2 separate regions of the Homo sapiens genome follow, and region 2 is linked to region 1. The links are contacts of gene promoters, found by promoter capture Hi-C in human tissues and cell types (Jung and others, 2019). All regions are on one chromosome and are shown on one strand. The core of a region is centred on a gene start or on the middle of the fragment in contact, and the rest is flanking DNA. Distances in the headings are between cores, read along the strand shown. Region 1 holds the start of SP9 (Sp9 transcription factor). Region 2 overlaps OLA1 (Obg like ATPase 1).

What was found. Contacts are between HindIII fragments. The study calls those that stand out against the background at their distance.
Region 2: a contact is called between a fragment that was not itself captured here and the fragment with the promoter of SP9 in region 1, in 1 of the 25 tissues and cell types used here (thymus).

The regions. Positions count from the first base shown.
Region 1 is chr2:174,332,693-174,338,876 of GRCh38, forward strand. SP9 (Sp9 transcription factor) reads left to right here and starts at 2,262. Exons shown (of 2, transcript NM_001145250.2): 1 at 2,262-2,421; 2 at 3,415-5,808. The coding sequence starts at 2,401. The coding sequence ends at 4,848. LOC102724194 (a long non-coding RNA gene) reads right to left here and starts at 2,284. Exons shown (of 3, transcript XR_427194.5): 1 at 1,048-2,284; 2 at 865-933; 3 at 302-368. RefSeq lists a silencer at 4,194-4,403 and an enhancer at 5,843-6,184. The HindIII fragment of the contact is 14,947 bases long and covers 1-6,184 here.
Region 2 is chr2:174,077,683-174,083,866 of GRCh38, forward strand. It overlaps OLA1 (Obg like ATPase 1), which reads right to left. Exons shown (of 11, transcript NM_013341.5): 8 at 4,242-4,382; 9 at 3,470-3,566; 10 at 1,286-1,408. Among named protein-coding and RNA genes, the nearest start is that of LINC01960, 55 kb to the left of the region's middle. RefSeq lists an enhancer at 6,093-6,184. The HindIII fragment of the contact is 3,838 bases long and covers 1,855-5,692 here.

The DNA.
Region 1 (6,184 bases), core at 1,012-3,511:
GAGTAGGAAACGCCTCGCTGCCACTTAACAATCCCTCTATTAGTAAATCTACGCGGAGACTCTATGGGAAGCCGAGAACCAGTGTCTTCTTCCAGGGCAGAAGTCACCTGTTGGGAACGGCCCCCGGGTCCCCCTGCTGGGCTTTCCGGCTCTTCTAGGCGGCCTGATTTCTCCTCAGCCCTCCACCCAGCGTCCCTCAGGGACTTTTCACACCTCCCCACCCCCATTTCCACTACAGTCTCCCAGGGCACAGCACTTCATTGACAGCCACACGAGCCTTCTCGTTCTCTTCTCCTCTGTTCCTTCTCTTTCTCTTCTCCTCTGTTCCTTCTCTTTCTCTGTCATAATTTCCTTGGTGCTTTCGCCACCTTAAACAAAAAAGAGAAAAAAATAAAATAAAAAAAACCCATTCTGAGCCAAAGTATTTTAAGATGAATCCAAGAAAGCGACCCACATAGCCCTCCCCACCCACGGAGTGCGCCAAGACGCACCCAGGCTCCATCACAGGGCCGAGAGCAGCGCCACTCTGGTCGTACTTTTGGGTCAAGAGATCTTGCAAAAGAGGAGAGAAAACACGGGAGGCACAGTTCCACATCCTTGTCACTTGCACCGGCTCCGCGACAACTCGTCGTTTGCACCCGAGGGTTTGGGGTTGGTAGTTTAATTTTTTTTTTTTCCTAAGAAGCAGGGTGTGGGTTTAGTGGGGAGTGTGCTATATTAAAACCAGTGCCCAGGTCTGCCCGAGGGCGCTGGTATTTCTGGTTCAAAAACAGCTTCTGGCTACCCTGGAGAAGAAAGAGAAAGCGGGGCCCAGAAAGAGAAAAACAAGCAGGTCAGCGGTTGCTGGGGGACTCGAAGACGCACCCTGGTCTGCTTGAGGACGCCTCTTTTCACACTGACAAGGTCCAGGGAGGACTTCAGGATGCTTCCAGCCTGCAAAATGTGGAAGCGCCCACGTGTGGCCTGGTCCTCCGCCCTCCCGGGTGAAAGTCCTGGAGAGATTTCTCGGGCGCGTCCGTGAAAGCAGGGCACTAATGGGGAGCCTACCTCTTAAAACAGCGCACTTGCCCTACGGACGAGCCTCTAGGCCCTGGTGGTCTGGAATGGGAGTGGGTTGGAGCTGGGACAAGAAAACTCCACTCCAGGATGAAACGCGACATGCAAATCTTCACCGGGTTAAACAAACAGCCGAGCAAGCTGCAGCTTCAGCGGAGGTGGAGGTGGGGGCGGACGCCGCTCGCGCCGGTCTCTGTTTCCAAAGTTGTTACAGTGAGAAAATAAGCGGCTTCGTGCAGCGTGTTGTATGGGCTGATGCCTCCCACCCCCATGCCAGCCCACAGCAAAACCCGGCAGATAATCAGCACATCCCACTGTTTAGTCATATTTGACAACTGGGTTAACCTGGTATCTAAGCGCTGGCGAAACCGTACAAAGGGTGCCCTCAATTACCACCAGAAGCCTCTAGCGTGAGTGGCACTTGTATTACCCCCCGGGTCAGAGGCCAGAGCGACAATTAGGAAGTCACTTACACCGCTGGGGGGAAATGGCGGGATGCAGCAGGCTCCAGGCCCTCCCAACAAATCTGTGGATGTAGATCTGTACAGAGAGGCCTATTTCGCTCCTCTCGGAGGAGCTGTCCCTTCGCGCCCCCTCCCCAGTATAACTGTGAGAGTGAAATTGAATCTAGTGGAATAAGGAATTGGGTAGAAGACACACGAAAATGATAAAAATCACAAGCAAGAATGATAGATACAAGCTGAAGTTGTGTTCTGTAGGCAAAAGCCTGGACACACAAAGTGAGGGCTCACATTTCCGTCTCCACTTGGGCCCTGCTGGTGCGGGCTGTGTCTGGGTGTCTCCTCCCCTCCTGCCTCCTTTCCTACAAGTGGGGAGTCGAGTAGGACTGTCAGCCCTAACTTGCAACATCTCGGGGTGGTTTGTGTGTGGGGGGGTGCTTGTGGCTCGGTTTCATTGGTACTTAAACCTGGCTTGGTGCGTGAGTGTAAATTTTTAATTGCACTGTAATTTCTTCAGTCCCCAGCCCGCCCTCGCCCCCCCCCCGCAAGTATCCCCCACTACTCCCCCCCACCCCCGCGGCCCTAGCTAGCTGACTTGACTGGCACGCGCCGGGAGCCCGGGCTCGGGCCCCTCGGAGCGTCTGATTGGCTGCGGGGCAGCTCCGGTCTGCTCTGCCTGCGCCCTCATTGGGCGAGAGGCGCAGCCAGCGGCACTTCAAAGCGGGTGCTCCTCGCACTTAGGCTGAGTTTAGCCGGCGGGAGCCTGGAGTCCGCTCGGCACGAGCGCGGGGACGCGGGAGCCGCGCGGGACCCAAGCAGTTTTTCCGAGCAGCCGCCAGGCTCAGCCCCGCTCCCAGCCTCGCTGCGCAGCCAGAGACCTGCTATGGCCACGTCTATACTCGGGGTAAGTCGCAAGCGCGGCAACGCATTTGCTTGTTTTAACCGGAGTAATTTTTCGTTATGGCTTCTGGGGTCTGCGGCTCCGGAGAAACTGTTGCTGCTAGACTGCAGCTTCAGCTTCTATTAGCACTTTCCACATTTCTGGGACTGATTTTTCCCCAAGTTTTTGGAACCCAGAAAGATGCCTTTGCAAGAAAAGGCCTTCTTAATCAAGTCCTTTTTCATTTGGTTTCAAAAAAAAGCTAGAGGTTTCTTTTCTTCCCCTCGTGATTTATACCCCATCCCCCGCATTGCTTTGGGGATTTTGTTGCAATTATGCGACAATGGTGTTTCCAGAAAACAGTCTTAATCGTTTTGCAGTCCATCTAGTCACGCTAATAAACATTTACATTTCCGCGGCTCCCCAATTCGCCCATGACTTTGAAATCTGTCTCTGGCCGCTTATCCTCGGATTATTGTTTTCATAATCGCTGTTTTTGTGTGTATGTAAACTTTAAAACCAAACGTTTTCTATTAAAAAAGAAAAGTCAAGTCGTAGCCACCCTGGGAGAGCTGCAAGTTTCGCCCGTCCCTGGCAGCTGTTTCGGCCGCCTCCGCCCTCACCCGGTGTTTGTTGTCTCTGGTCTCTGTGTTTACCTTCGCGCTTCACCCCGAAGGGCGACTTGGGGTCTTCTGGGAGATGAGCCGGTTTACGGCGACAACCCAAGTCCGGTTGTAGGCAGGGTTGCAGCGGGGAACACGGAGGCATCTTTGATTTATAGCCTCAGCGAAGTGCAACTTTCCGGCGCCTGGACCTTCGCCCGGGTGATCGCCCCTGCTCCGCGCCCGGTGCGGCGACTCCTCCGCGGGCGCGTGGGGAGGAGGCGCGAGGCGGGGAGCCAGGACCCCCCGGGAGCAGCCGCAGGGGACGAGGCTGCTCACGGGTGCACTTTGTTTCTTCCCCCACTTCCTCTTGCCCTCCTCCTTCTTGCTCCCTCCCCCATCCCACCCACTCTAGGAAGAGCCGCGCTTCGGAACGACCCCGTTGGCCATGCTGGCGGCGACCTGCAACAAGATCGGCAACACGAGCCCGCTGACGACGCTGCCAGAGTCGAGCGCCTTCGCCAAAGGCGGCTTTCACCCCTGGAAGCGCTCCTCGTCCAGCTGCAACCTCGGCTCCAGCCTCTCGGGCTTCGCGGTGGCCACCGGGGGCCGTGGCTCGGGCGGCCTGGCGGGCGGCTCGGGCGCCGCCAACAGCGCCTTCTGCCTGGCCTCCACGTCGCCCACGTCGTCCGCCTTCAGCAGCGACTACGGCGGCCTCTTCTCCAACTCGGCGGCTGCCGCGGCGGCAGCGGCCGGGGTGTCCCCGCAGGAGGCGGGTGGCCAGTCGGCCTTCATTTCCAAGGTGCACACGACGGCAGCCGACGGGCTGTACCCGCGCGTGGGCATGGCGCACCCGTACGAGTCCTGGTACAAGTCGGGCTTCCATTCGACGCTGGCGGCCGGCGAGGTGACCAACGGCGCGGCGTCGTCGTGGTGGGACGTGCACAGCAGCCCGGGCTCGTGGCTGGAAGTGCAGAACCCCGCTGGGGGGCTCCAGAGCTCGCTGCACTCGGGCGCCCCCCAGGCCTCGCTGCACTCGCAGCTGGGCACCTACAACCCCGACTTCAGCTCGCTCACGCACTCCGCCTTCAGCTCCACGGGCCTCGGCTCCTCCGCCGCCGCCGCCTCCCACCTGCTCTCCACCAGCCAGCACCTGCTGGCCCAGGACGGCTTCAAGCCGGTGTTGCCCTCCTATTCGGACTCCAGCGCCGCCGTGGCAGCCGCCGCCGCCAGCGCCATGATATCGGGCGCCGCGGCTGCCGCCGCCGGGGGGAGCTCGGCACGCTCTGCCCGCCGCTACTCGGGCCGCGCCACCTGCGACTGCCCCAACTGCCAGGAGGCGGAGCGGCTGGGCCCGGCCGGGGCGAGCCTGCGGCGCAAGGGCCTGCACAGCTGCCACATTCCGGGCTGCGGCAAGGTGTACGGGAAGACGTCGCACCTGAAGGCGCACCTGCGCTGGCACACGGGCGAGCGGCCCTTCGTGTGCAACTGGCTCTTCTGCGGCAAGCGCTTCACGCGCTCGGACGAGCTGCAGCGGCATCTGCGGACTCACACGGGCGAGAAGCGCTTCGCCTGTCCGGTGTGCAACAAGCGCTTCATGCGCAGCGACCACCTGAGCAAACACATTAAGACGCACAACGGGGGCGGCGGGGGCAAAAAGGGCAGCGACAGTGACACGGACGCCAGCAACCTGGAGACGCCCCGTTCCGAATCCCCCGACCTCATCCTGCATGACTCCGGCGTCAGTGCCGCCCGGGCGGCGGCAGCGGCGGCGGCGGCAGCGGCGGCGGCGGCGGCGGCGGCCTCCGCGGGAGGCAAGGAAGCAGCGTCTGGCCCCAACGACTCTTAGAGGCCGGGCGAGAGGCGCGAGCACACAAGCGAGTAGAGACACCGAGAACGAACGAGAGGTTCGGAGGGCGAGCGAGCGGGAGGCGGGAGGGCAGGGGCTTCAGTGACGCCCCCAGGGCCCGGGCTGGGCGCGAGGTGGAGCCGCTCAGGGCTCCCGGGCTGCGGTTCGCCCGCTGTGCGAGGAGCTCCCCTCTGCCTTCCGCGCCCGGATAAGAATCGAACGCGTGGTCCGGAAACAAAAGCGAACCATCCTCCGACACAAACACTTTAAAAACTGTACTCCCAGACGTACACATACACCGGAGACCTACAACCACAAGCACGCACACTCGCGCGCGCACACACATACCACTCGCCCAAACTTCTCGAGCGAAGAGCAATACATAGAAAGGCTCCCTCTTTGCCCACTCTCCACCTCCCTCCAACACCCGTCTCTTTCCTTTTCTCAAAAACAAGCCACCACCCAGCAAAGGACTGTCAGAACATTTGAAAACAAACGGGACCGATAAAAACACCCTTTGTTTGGATTATATTATATATAAAATGCTCCAAGTCCTGCCTGATATCTACTTACAATGAGACTTTTTTCCTAAAAAAGGAAGCATCAAAAGGCTTAAGGTGAGAAATTAAACTGGAAGTCTAGCGACAGTTTCTCTGTATTTCATAACATCTGTATAAATAGGGTTCAAAAGATTGTGTTCTCTTTTATTTTCTTGTAAATGTTCATTCGAATAGAGTTTTTTTGGGTGAATCCCTGAAATTCAGGGAGTTTTTTTTAATTTTCTGATGCACTTTGTGAAAGTCAGTATATATGTAAAAGATATTTAAAATGTTGAGTTATCATTTCACTCACAAACACGTAAGTTAAGGTCATCTAAAGAAATTAAATGCGTTTATCTGTATCAAGAAAATCTTGACATCATATTTTCATTTTGGTATTATTAAAGGACTCTGAACAATACATTTCCTTTTTTAAAAATCCTGTTTCCCCCTCAATAACCTTTTCGTGGGTCGATTTTTTTTTCGGTTGGGAAAAAATTCCCTTAATGTTAGTTGTAGGTAATGTAAAGTTTATGTGGGTTATAAAAGCCATACTACATATACGTTTTTGAGAAGTCAAAATTATTTATTTGTATATCAACAACATAAATTAAATTGGGTTGTAAGGACGTGTAGTTGTATTACTTAATGTGAAGGCTCTCAAAAGGTGACATTTTAAAACTCTGGAGCGCCTAAAAAATGCAAAGGTCCTTGGCAGCTTTAATTGGGGAGGTGCCTAAACCTCTGGGAGGGGTCAGAGAAAACTCTGGTGGGTTTGTTTGTTTTTAAAAAGTGAT
Region 2 (6,184 bases), core at 2,524-5,023, 250 kb before region 1:
TTCATCTATCAAGTTTATTACAACATAGATCTACTAAGGATTGGTAAACAGGCTTACCATTTTAAGAGTATAAAAAAAGAAGCATCTGATCTCTGAATTCTAGTAATAGAAAACATCCTCATTTTTATCTTCCTTATGAAAAATAGATATGCCAACATGATGTAGCATGTTGACAAATAATCTGAGATTTTTGTTCGTCTAATTAGTATTCCTGACAAAGTTCAATCTCAGTATTTTTGCACACCTACCTATATCTATACAGATGCCACCATCAAAAAATTAACAACTGTGTTTACTTGTAAACTGTTATTCCTTCCACTCTTTCAAAAAAACAAAATGGTTCTCATTCAACATTGAACCAATTATACCAAGATTTTCCCCCTCCTCTTCCTGGTGTTCCAACAGTTCTATTAAAGTCCTGCTGTTCGGTATGACCTTTCCAATGATACCAGTGAAAATAAAGTAAACCTGAAATAAACTTTTTTGTATTCCTTTCAACTTATGAAATAGTAAACACAAGAATCTTCTTTAAATTCTATAACATTTACTATAGTAGTCTTCAAATATTAAATTAAATTAAAGAACCTTCCTACAATGTCAGTTTAACCAGCTAATCTGTCTATATTAGAGATTGCTAGATTTCTCTAAGTAACATCTAATAAATCAAACAAAATTAATTTTGCAACAGAATTTACATTTAACAAGTCATCTACTACTCATGTATAAAACTGCTTCACTATTAGTGTCTGCAAACCAAATTATCCTTATTAGCTAAAATAAAGCACAATTTTGGACCTGCCCTCTAGTGTTGAGAAAGCAAATCAAATCCCCAAGTATCTTTAAACAACAAACAAGTAAAACCATGAAGTTTTAGAAAGAACAGCTTTTATTTAACTAACTTTCTATCTCTATTCTTGAAGTAATTATAAGCATATATATTATACTTCAGCTATTCAAATGTAATAAGTACAATTTTTCATTGGCCATGAGTGAACAAATTCTTCGAAATTATTTACAATTACTTAAACCTAATTTATTTTATTTTCAATTATAGAAAAAAACCTCCACAAAACTACTGACAATTCACACATTTTTAAAATGATCTAAAAGTATGTAAACATCTATAGCTCTTAAGTCAGTTGATAGTAACACTAAACGCTGATCATCTTATTACTTTATTTTAGACTACACTCAGTTTAAAAGATAATTATCATTCATTTTTATCATGACTAACTTCGCATCAGTGGAAACATTGTGAAATACAAAAATAAAAACAATTCTTTACCTTGACTGCATTTTCAGAACCTTCCTCTTTAAAATCTTCGTATTTCATTACTTCAGCCATAATGAATCCCTTTTCAAAATCTGTGTGAATCTTTCCTGCAGCCTGAGGAGCCTTAGTCCCTTTCTTTGAAAAGAAAGACCAGAGAAAACTAATTGCATTTAAGATGACTGATTGTAAGCACAGAGTTTCTTTTCTCTGATCTGCAGTTGGGCTCAACTAGAACTTAGTTTAATATCTGTTAAGATGTCAGGTATATAATTAGTACATTTTCAACACTGGGTAGTATCTGTGCAGCAGATTTAGCATAGATCAGTAGATATTAAAGAAGCGTGGCTTTGTTTTTCCTAACAGTCATCCACTGTTTTATTGATTTAGAAGCAGTGGTCTGGTTTTGGTGTAGGTTTCATTTCGATTTTCTATTCTTCACAGTGGAAAAAAATAGATTTTTAAGTAACTTTCAAGCTGAATTATCAAAGGTTTTAAAAAGATAAAAAGCTCTCAAAATTTCAGCTCATCTAAAGAACATATAAAAATCAATATACAAAGGGACATTTTAAAGGCATTTCCAACAAATCATATTGGAAATCTACATTCAGCAAATAATTGTGAAACTCTCAAAAAATTTCGATAATAAAATTTTTGAACATTTTGCATAATATTCCCTGCCTCTAACCATCATGAAGGAAATTCAAGTTGATATAGGGAGAGAAATGTCTTATAATTAACCCATATGTTATATTACAAGGATATATATTCCACACACACATAACCATGGAAAGAAATTTGAGAAATAACGGTGACCTAAAGGCTGCTTAATAAAGCATGTTAAAGTGATAAGGAGTCTGACACTAGAAAGCACAGTTTTTACAATAAAAGATGTATTGGGTTAATATAGCTACTCACTGATGCTTACCTGACTAAATATCTTAGCACATTAAATCATGGATACTTACAATCAGTCTTAAGATAAACCAGCTTTCACATTTTCAAGCCCAGAACATGCTATCTTTCCTACCTCCACATACTTAAGTTAGAAAGTTTTAAGGCTTTAAAATACATCTTTAAAATATATAGTAAAAATAAATCCTGGCAATTTGTTTACCAACTTGGATTTGCTTTGACATTATTTTTAAAATCTATATAAAAGGACCTTGGTTAGAAGTCAATCAAACATTTTTTTACAAAGGGGAGAGGAGATAAAAGAAAAGTAAATCTCACATTCACACAAGGCATTTAACATTATGTTAACTGCCTCCATGTTTCTATCCATATTAAATCAAAATACATGTAACAATAAATTACAGTAGTCACTGAAAACAGGAATCAAAGCACCACTAAAATTTATCGTGTAGCATATATTTAAAAAGCATAATAAAAGACTGAATAAGACACTATTTCTAAAAGTTCTGGTATTATTTTTATATTCTGTAACATACTATTTAGGATCACATATATTTCAAAATATTTTTCAATAGTAACTACTATGTTACAATATATTTAAATTTAAAAGCAAACCATTACAGTTCAGTTTCTATTGTCCTCTGGGAATAAATTAGTCATTCTCTCTGTTGTATTCAGTATACATCAATTTTTAAAATACATATCACATTTTTAAAGAAGTAAGACTGAACATATAACACTGAAAATAAACATTACTTCTATGAATTCAAATTTAAAAAGGCATGAATTATTACACGTTGAGTTTAGCTTTTTGAGCCCAACTGTGTATCTATGAAGAGCATAATGATGTCATATTGCTTTTATTGCTGAAAATGTAATCCGAGCAAAGCAAAGGAGGAAAGAACCACCCGCAACCCAAACAAACTTAGCGAATACAAAATGAAAAGCAACATCAATTTCACTGCAGACAAACCCAGTCACACAGATTAAGCAAGCACAATACTGGTGCGTCTTATCTCTGACCACAGGAGGAGGGTAGACAGATTCTACAGGATGAAGAAATTCAGACTATGTAATAGGCAGAATCAATTGTTACCTGCCTCAATCAATGCCGCTCCACTTTCACTGTTCAGCAGCTCACAAATAATTAAAGTTATCCTGGACAAAAACCTCATCTGTAATGACTAGCTAACCGCCACCATGACAAACTTCAAAGTCAGTGATATCAATCTGAATTCAATAGTGTGGAACTGGATATAGCTGATGAATAAGTATGAATCTTACCCTGATGGTCCATGCACGCACTTCATCTGGGCCTGCAGTGAAAAAGTATTCTAGTTGGAGTGCTGCAAACCCAGCCTTAATGATCTTTGGCAAAGCACTGAAATCAAATGAAACAAATTCACCCAACACATAAGTTGATTGTGCCAGAAATTGGTATAGAGCTAAAATTATTCATTTCAAGCAGAAAATGTTAAAGATAGTAGTAAATGACCATTCATCTTTCAGAATACACTGGAAGGGTTCAGAAAGCAAGTAACTGTTTTTAAAAACCTCTCTTCTAAAATTGGTTTTAATTGTATTAGCCTGAAGATATTATTTTGAATTGTTTGCTATTTAAAAAAAGAAAAATTATGACTATTTTCATCCAAAATTAATTATTTCCAGGACCTGGCCATAAAAGCAAAATTATTTGATTGAAATCTGATATTTAAACAATATATTACTGTTACTCAGAAAAAATTATGGCAACTGATTCACCCTTTCCCCTCCCCCACTGAACATGACGAAAGAGTTTTGGCGATCATTCCTTCTCAAAAATATACATAACTAATACCTATGTTATAATTAAAACACTGTACGGAGATGACAGATGACAGTTAAAAACTTAATTTAAAATAAATCTTTTCACTCTGTCTCATGGTAAAGAAAGGAGAAGATTCCCTCTTTATAATGGTAATTACTCTGTCATTTATTATTCTATCAGCGCAAGCAATTAAATTACTGCAAGGAAATAGTTGATAATAAAGTGTAGGGAAAATGAATGCTAATTAACCTTTGTGTCATGTTCGCTTCCAGATACTTCTGTCTCTCCTCAGCACTCAATTCTTGCAACTTGAGTTCCAAGGCCCCACTAAAAGGAATGACCAAAGCACCTGGGTCATACTTGTCCACCCACTCTTTAATTTTTATCAACCTGTAGACAAAAAAGGGCACAACATTATCTTGTAGTGCATGCATGACTGTACCACATTCATTATTATCAAGTAGCACATACATATTCATAAGAATTGCACGGTTTTATGATGCCATCTTTTTGTATATAGCTTTCCAAGGTCAAGGCATTAACAGGCAGCAACTGCTTCAGGTATACGCCATAGTATTTTACTGTAACCTAGTTTTACTTTAGCACATTATCTATGGAAACTATTATACAAATATTTAAAAACTTTTTTTAGTTACACTAAAATTGTTCAGCATTAACACCTGTACCCTTGAATAAAGCTTCCATTTTATAATTTTTTGTTTTCCTTACTTTACAAAGTAAATTTTTAAAAGAAGACATAAAGTTCTGTTTGTACAGGAATCATACCTAAAAATACCAGCTAATTCTGAAGAGCCCTTCACAAATAAATAATTTGTTCCAGCCAGATATCTATATGCCTGGTTTAGTTCCTTCATGGACTAACAGAACTCACAGTGGTCACTAGTTTTGAGGAAGCTTTTTCCTAGCCAGAACAAGCACGTGCAGAAATACAGATTTACAAATATGGTTGATCACGTACGCAGCTGTATGAACCTGACTTTTGTGAGAACAAGAATAATAGAACTGCAGAGGAAAGAAATTCCTTTAATCACAAAGGATTTGGAAAGCCAAATCAGTTAGGAAACTGATCCTAGTTGTTACCTGAAAAGACATTATTGAGTCATTTTTTTTCCTTCCAAAGCATGGAGTATTTGGCAAAGTAGTAATTAGAACATAAATGAAATAAGTGTAGTGAATATATTAATTAGGTTCAGAGCCTAACACTTTCCTAGCTTTTTATTACTGGGCAGGTTACTGAACGTTTCTAAGCCTCAGTTTCCTCACTTGTAAAAATAGAGATAATAATAGTACATATTATATTGTAAGGAACCTAGAAAAGCCTGCAAATAGTAAAGAATTAACAGCAGTTACTATTATTAATTTTCCTTCTCAGATAATCATAGCATACATTCCTATGAATCTGGAACTGAGTTTAGTGTGAGACTATACATTCCATTAAAATTTTTATAAAATTATGCTATAGGCTTACATAATTCCACTAGACTGCTATATTTAGACAAAGGTTTTAATAGTTATTATGGCAAAATGCTGTGGCAGAAGTCCTTTAAATAATTAATGTAAATGCCACTTTAGGGGAAAAGAAAAACAAGAACTAAGTCACAAATCCATCAATGGCAGGGGAGCAGAGTTATTAGAAAATTAAGACTATGGCCCATTGAGCAGGATTTAGGATGGGAGAAAGGAATGAAAAACAATCACACAAGAGTTTGTATATGTTTGTTATACAAAGGTAACTACTTATTTAGTATGTTATTTGTGGTTTTCAATCTTCATAATAGTATTTTTTCTTTTGTTCATATCCCAAAAAATGGACCAAGTCCTATGATTTATGTTGCCTTTAACATAAAATTCAAACTAGATGTTTTCTTAACCAAAATTAAGAAGGACAGGTTAAAAAAAAGGTGGGGGGACTGAAATTGGTGCTTCTGTCTCCGTTAACATTATGGTATTCTAAGTTACTTCACAGACTTACACTATTCAAACAAAAGTCTATATTCAAATGTTATCATCAATGGTTTAGTAACTTACTTTCATTATACAAGTTAAAATCAAATATGTAATTTTAAAAAAGCAGATCACATACCAAATAGATTCAATGAAAGTGAAATAAAACAAGCCCATGTAAAAGGAGAATATAAAAATATCATACACACTTTATTTCATAAATATGG